2 separate regions of the Homo sapiens genome follow, and region 1 is linked to region 2. The links are contacts of gene promoters, found by promoter capture Hi-C in blood cells and fetal thymus (Javierre and others, 2016). All regions are on one chromosome and are shown on one strand. The core of a region is centred on a gene start or on the middle of the fragment in contact, and the rest is flanking DNA. Distances in the headings are between cores, read along the strand shown. Region 1 has its middle 170 kb from the start of SH3BP4. Region 2 holds the start of SPP2 (secreted phosphoprotein 2).

Region 1 (3,586 bases), core at 236-2,735, 1.1 Mb after region 2:
AAGTCAGGAAGCTGTCTCCTCGCTTGAAACTTAGTGGGCAACCACTAACGACTAAGGAATAGATTGAATGCCTGGGGATCAGTTTTACATGGGGAAGTGAATCACAGTTTCCTAGAGTAAATGGAATAACAAAAAAGAAATATCAAGGTGACTGAAAAAAAAAGCATAAAATCTGACACGTAATAAGTGCTATTTATTAAAAGGCAAAGGCTTCCATCTTCTATTAGAATACAAAACCACAATAGACTGCTGATTAAAAGAGAAGTTACAATTAAATAACATTAAAAGTTTATTCTATATGGAAAGCATGACAGGCAACGGTGAACAAAACAGATAAATGTTTGGATGGTTTGGCAAAGACGATAAGAAACAAAGTGGTAAGGTGGTAACTCTCCCTGCTATTATGGTCTCTGGAGTTTCTCCACTCCTATTTTTTCCAGGCTACCAAACTACTAGCGAGAGAAAGAAATTTTATGACAGCAATGGCTAGAAAAAATACTTGAGACAAAATTGGACATTTAAATTTATAGAAAGTGCCATCTACAGCTTTAAAAATACATAAAGCAAAAACTGAAATACAAGGAGTAATTAACAGAAGCATGAAAGCAGTAGAAGTATGTGTATATACAAATACACACGCACATACTCACAACGCCAACATTCTATATTCCAATCAGGCATGTAAAAAGTGAGGCCATAAAAGCTTTGTAAAATATCTCTAATTGAGACAAATCAAGTGTCTGCTTTCAGACATAATGGAGTGACTTAAATTGGACTAACTTTCATGCCAAGAAAAAATCCTATAAAAGCTGAATAAAATGTACAAAATGACTGTGTGAAGCAGTGGGCAGCAACTAATGTAGACAGTACTGAAAGGCACAATTGTGAGAGTGAGAGAAGGGAAGCACACAAGATAATTTCTTTTTTTTCTTTTCTGGTATTCTTTTTTTTTCTCTCTTTTTTTTATTATACTTTAAGTTCTAGGGTACATGTGCACAACGTGCAGGTTTGTTACATATGTATACATGTGCCATGTTGGTGTGCTGCACCCATTAACTTGTCATTTACATTAGGTATATCTCCTAATGCTATCCCTCCCCCCTCCCCCCACTCCACAACAGGCCCCGGTGTGTGATGTTCCCCTTCCTGTGTCCATGTGTTCTCATTGTTCAATTCCCACCTATGAGTGAGAACATGCGATGTTTGGTTTTTTGTCCTTGCAATAGTTTGCTGATAATGATAGTTTCCAGCTTCATCCATGTCCCTACAAAGGACATGAACTCATCATTTTTTATGGCTGCATAGTATTCCATGGTGTGTATGTGCCACACTTTCTTAATCCAGTCTATCATTGTTGGACATTTGGGTTGGTTCCAGGTCTTTGCTATTGCGAATAGTGCTCACACAAGATAATGTCTACATTAACCCTGGTTGTTTTCCCTGTGGGAATTTTTTTAAATCGTTGCATGAGGAATAGAGACCACCTCTAACAAAGCTGAAAATCAAGCCTCCATGGGACCCAAGGTGATTCACTGATAGAGAACTGCCTGACAGGAAGAAAAAAACTTTCTTTGAAGAAAAACATCATTATCGGAGCCTCTACAATTTTTATCTACAATGAGCAAAATAAAATATAAAAATTAAAGGTTATGGTAAAAAAGACAGGACCAAGAGAAACAAACGTTAAGAAAAATGTAAACATTATATATAGTCTCACAGGTGATTTAGATATTGGAGTTATCAAAGAGAAATTTTAAAAATTGATTAGCCATTCAAGAAAATAAAGGATGGCATGGAAAAACAAGAGAAAATATAGAGAATTTCAACATAATTGAATATATATGAACAAAGCAACTGGGCGGTCTAGAACTGAAAAATACAATATTTGAAATGAAGAATTCATTAGATGAATTTAACAGTACACTGGACATAACAGAAGATGGGGAGGAATAGAATTTATTCAAACTGAAGCAAAGAGAGAAAAATAATGGAATGAACAGTACAGAATATTGTGTACATATACAGAATATTGTGTCCCCAAAGGAGAAGAGGGAAAAGAGCATAAATAATATTTGAAGACAGAATGGCTAAGTATATGTTTTAAAATATAATGAAAGACAACAACCCACAGGTTCAAGAGTCTATGCAAACCCCAAGATAACTAGAATAGGCACATCTTAGTCAAGCTGCTGAAAACCAAAGACAAAATGAAAATCTTAAAAGCAGGCGGGAATAGTGGGAATACTTTACTTTCAAAGGATCAAGAATAAAGCTTACAGCTGACTGTACAACATACTCATGGGAGCAAGTGGAATGACATCTTTAAAGGGCTAGGTATCAGCCAAACTAAAATTTTATAAACATTGAAAATATTAATGAAAATAAAGCAAAATAAGGAATTTTTGACAAATGAAAGCTGAGAAAATTTGTATCCAGTAGACTTGCACTAAAAGAAATACTAAAGATGGAGAATATCTTCATGACTTTGATGTAAGAACCGATTTCTGAAATAGATTTTTAAAAAGACACTAAACCTAATGAACATAATTGATAAATTAAACATAAATTGATGATTGACATTAAGCATTTCTGTTTACCAAAATAGACCTTTAAAAGAATAAAAATGCAATACCAACAAATATAAATGTTTATATTTGTGAACCATGTACTTGACCAAAGGCTTATATTCAAGATCAATGAAAAGGAAAATGTGTAAAAAATTTGATCAGGAACTTTCCAAAAGAATCTAAGAAGAACTTCGACTTCATTAGCTACCAGAGAAATACAAATTTAAAACACAGTAAGAGACTACCATTTTATTAGCTAAATTCTTAAATACATTCTAGATGAGCTGAAATTAAAAGACTGACTTCATTAAGTGTTGATGAGGATGTGGAGTAATTCATGTGCACTATTAGTGGCAGTGTAAGTAAATTGATATAAGCACTTTGGAAATCTATTTAGTATTATTTATTAAAATTGAATATACACATATTTTATGGCCCATGCACAAATATACCAAAATATATGCGCAAAAGCATTCATAGCAACATTAAATGTAAAGCTAAAAATGCAAAACAATGCAAATATCCTTGAATAGTAGAATGAATATATAAATTATGGTATTGTCATACAGTGAAACACAATTATTCTCTTAATAAATTTAATCAAGTAGATAAAAGGAACAAATGAAATAAGAGATTTCGGAGGGGGGGCCAGATCCATTCTTGATAAAAACAAAGATTTTGTAAGCTAAGAACATACAGATACTTTTCTGTTTTACTTTTCTTTTTGGCACTTCAGTTGCAGAGATTTAAATTAGTTATTCTCTTCAGTTCAAGGTACAACATCACCATGATTTGTACAAGACTCCCTCTTGGCTTTTAATACATTCATTTTTTTCCCGCCTCCACATTCTCCAATTCTCTCCTCCTTAGTTCTTTCTTCAGATGGAGCTGCCCTAGAGGGTTTGATATGTGTCTTTGGAAAATAAGTTTGTGAATGTGTGTGTGTTGGCAGGGGGCGGGGTGGGGAGTGGTGGTGAAGTTAATTCACATAAAGTGTAAACGACATAGTTCCTTGCTTT
Region 2 (3,870 bases), core at 597-3,096:
TCCTGAATGGTATTGCTTAGGTTTTCTTCTAGGGTTTTTATGGTTTTAGGTTTTACGTTTAAGTCTGTAATCCATCTTGAGTTAATTTTTGTATAAGGTGTAAGGAAGGGATCTAGTTTCATCTTTCTGCATATGGCTAGCCACAAGGAAAAAACAACCAACCCCATTAAAAAGTGAGCAAAGGATATGAACCGACACTTCTCAAAAGAAAACATTTATGCAGCCAACACTCACATGAAAAAATGCTCATCATCATTGGTGATTAGAGAAATGCAAATCAAAACCACAATGAGATATCATCTCACGCCAGTTAGAATGGCGATCCTTAAAAAGTCAGGAAACAACAGATGCTGGAGAGGATGTGGAGAAATAGTAACACTTTTACACTGTTGGTGGGAGTGTGAATTAGTTCAACCATTGTGGAAGACAGTGTGGCAATTCCTCAAGGATCTAGAACTAGAAATACCATTTGACCCAGCAATCCCATTACTGGGTATGTACACAAAGGATTATAAATCATTCTACTATAAAGACACATGCACAGGTATGTTTATTGTGGCACTGTTCACAATAGCAAAGACTTGGAACCAACCCAAATACCTGTCAATGATAGACTGGATAAAGAAAATGTGGCACATATACACCATGGAATACTAAGCAGCCATAAAAAGGGATGAGTTCATGTCCTTTGTAGGGACGTGGATGAAGCTGGAAACCATCAATCTCAGCAAACTAACACAAGAACAGAAAACCAAACACCACATGTTCTCACTCATAAGTGGGAGTTGAACAATGAGAACAAATGGACACAGGGAGAGGAACATCACACACCGGGGCCTGTTGGGGGGTGGGGGGCTGGGGGAGGGATAGTATTAGGAGAAATACCTAATGTAGATGATGGGTTGATGGGTGCAGCAAACAACCATGGCACATGTATACCTATGTAACAAACCTGAAGGTTCTGCACATGTGCCCCAGAACTTAAAGTATATATTTAAAAAATCTCTCTTTTTCTTTCCCTCTATATTTTGGTTCTCCTTTCTGGAGAACCCTGACTAAGAACACACCTGACCTCTAACCATTTATGCCTATTTTATAGATGAGAAAATTGAGGTTCAGAGGTGTTGAGTGCCATGCCCAAGGGGATACTCCTGGTACATGGTAGAGCCAAGATCTCAGTCCAGGTCTTTCTGAGACAAAACACAGCTTCTTATGCGTGAAATCCACAAATAAGAACACAATGACCTACATACAACACAAACTGTACTTCCAATTAAGTAGTTCTCCTTTTTAATCATTCAAAAACTACCTTGGGATCTTACAGTGCATGGGAATCATCAATATGTAAATACCTTATTATCCAGGTGATGTGCAAAAGTGTCCAGTAGCACAGAAGATTGGTTAATAGGATGGTGTGTCCCAGCTTTTTACTGCACTTGTACTTGCTTCGAATATTTAGGACCCCTATATAAAATTATCTTCTCCAAAGTCATAATTTCCAAGAAGATCTTATACCCACACTATTTTCATAAGTAGTCAACTGCAAGATCTTTAGAACCATGAGGGGATCTCAATACACAACAATTTAAGATTAACCATTTTGTTGAATGTAAGATTATATCCCCTCCAAAGAATGAAATTAAAATAGAGAAAAATAAACAGCACACGTGGAATCCTGAGCCTCTTGATGCCTTTTGCCTTGGGCTAAAGTTCTCTTGTGAGTTGTAAACTTCAAAAGTGTCCTCAAACTGGAACCTTTCCATAGGAAAAGTCAGCAGAAAATATTGACCCCAGGATCAATTGTTTCTGTTTAAGTTACAGATTGCTGCAGTCAAAATAAGCAGCCAGTGTTTGATAAAGACAGCTCCTCTTAGGAAGAACTGTCATCCCCAAACACATAGAGAGACACTCTCTGTCTCTCGATTACAATCATGATTTCCAGAATGGAGAAGATGACGATGATGATGAAGATATTGATTATGTTTGCTCTTGGAATGAACTACTGGTCTTGCTCAGGTAAGGTATTCACCAACCTGGCCACCTGCTCTGGATCATGCAGAGCCATGCTGGCGCCTGTGTCTTGTCTCACTGTGCCCCATGTGCTTGCGTGTCCAGGTTTCCCAGTGTACGACTACGATCCATCCTCCTTAAGGGATGCCCTCAGTGCCTCTGTGGTAAAAGTGAATTCCCAGTCACTGAGTCCGTATCTGTTTCGGGCATTCAGAAGCTCATTAAAAAGAGTAAGTGCAAAATGAAATCTTCTCTACTCCTCCTTCCAATGCTGTCTGCCTTTTGTCAGTTCATTGGATATACTTTTAAGAAATTTTCTCCAGTTTAAAAATGATAGTAGCTAGTCATCTCTTTCATACTGTCTCTTTTCTTTGACAGAGAAAGATTTAATTACAATTTTTTGTCATGAGGCTATCCAAACCACTTTTGATGACTGATTCTTCTGCTGTATTCTCCTCTCTAACCTTGTCTTCTGGTTCCCTGCAGCCTGCTTTTGTACTTGAAGTCCTCGCGATTCTTTCTGAGGTGTTTTATTACGAACTTCTCATTTATTGGAAATGAGCCTCCTTTCAAATTCAGCAGTTCTGCTCCTAATACTTACTGGAAATAATCTGGCTTTTGAGTCAAAGAAATTCACCTTTCCTTGTCAATTTGGTAATAGTCTGTTTCCTCTTAGCTTTGGGAGCTAAAGAAAGAGTAATCACTTGGGCTTCCAATGACTAAGTCTGTGATATGCAAGGAAAGAAATGTAAAAATATCCTTCAAAGGAAATGAGAAACATAAGCAGCAAGTCATCTCCCTTCTTCCTGTTCCCCAGGTAATTTCACTGCCTTATTATCATCTGCATGGGGCTCATTTGGAGGTAGGGATGAACATATTTTCAAGCAAATTTAGGTTAAGGTGGGAGGTAGAGAGGTTCTATAAAGTTGCACATCTTAGGAATGAAGGCTCTGTATAGCCAGGCAGCATGGGAATGAGAATGAAGACACGGCTGAAGGTCCAGGCAGCAGAGGCCAGATGGACATTGCTTTCTCTCTGTCTGCCTGCTGCCTTCTCCCATCCCTCCTGGACTGACTCTTAGCTTGTTCCCTCTGCTACTCTGTAGAGCACATGGCTCATGATTTCCTAGTTCTAGTCTCCAAATACAACATATTCAGCTTGATCTTCCTCAGAACCTGGCTCCTAGTTTCTCTTTTCCAAATTTCAAGGGAAATGAATCAAAAGGACCCAGTTTTATTTTCTAGTTTGATTATAGTTCATGAAGACTATGGGCTATGCTTTTTTTTAGGTGCCATTCCAGAATCATGGCCAGAGTGGAGTCACTTGCTCTGGATGTTGTGGTGTGGAGGCACTGGTCAGCTGCCACACCAAAGGTTGAGCTGCTCCTGGATCAGAATACAGAACCCCCTTTCCTTGCTTGTATTGTATTTCAAATGCCAGTTTCCATTGGCATTTAATGAAATCCACTTGTGGTGGTGTGGAATCGGGGTCTTTTTGCCAACCTTGCAGATGAACAGTTTAAATTTACTTTTGATTTAGCTATTGCTCACCACAGAAGAAAGTTAGCAGTTTATTAGATGAATAAGAGCATGAGGATAGATCCCAAGAGAACCAATTACTGACACCGTGGAAATCTGCCCTGTGGAGATGAGCTATTGTGAGGCACAGCCACCAGAGCGTGTTCTGGCTCATGTGCCATCTTGGTATAGTCACCCAGACTTGAGCCCAGACGCACATGCACCTAAAAATAGATACAATTATATGCGATGTGTGTGACTCTTGATGAGCACATGAAAAATGTTGCCTCTCCACCTCAAGTACACTGCTCCTTTACCTGGAGGTCTGCCTATTCTTGCCTCT

Evidence for each region. The method cuts DNA at HindIII sites, captures the fragments that hold promoters and counts their contacts. A CHiCAGO score of 5 or more calls a contact.
Region 1: a fragment that was not itself captured here is called in contact with the fragment with the promoter of SPP2 in region 2 in 1 of 17 cell types (endothelial precursors); the score reaches 5.4 in endothelial precursors.

What each region holds. Positions count from the first base shown.
Region 1 is chr2:235,117,718-235,121,303 of GRCh38, forward strand. No RefSeq gene overlaps it. Among named protein-coding and RNA genes, the nearest start is that of SH3BP4, 170 kb to the left of the region's middle. The HindIII fragment of the contact is 1,569 bases long and covers 702-2,270 here.
Region 2 is chr2:234,048,856-234,052,725 of GRCh38, forward strand. SPP2 (secreted phosphoprotein 2) reads left to right here and starts at 1,847. Exons shown (of 8, transcript NM_006944.3): 1 at 1,847-2,016; 2 at 2,116-2,240. The coding sequence starts at 1,932. The HindIII fragment of the contact is 10,293 bases long and covers 1-3,870 here.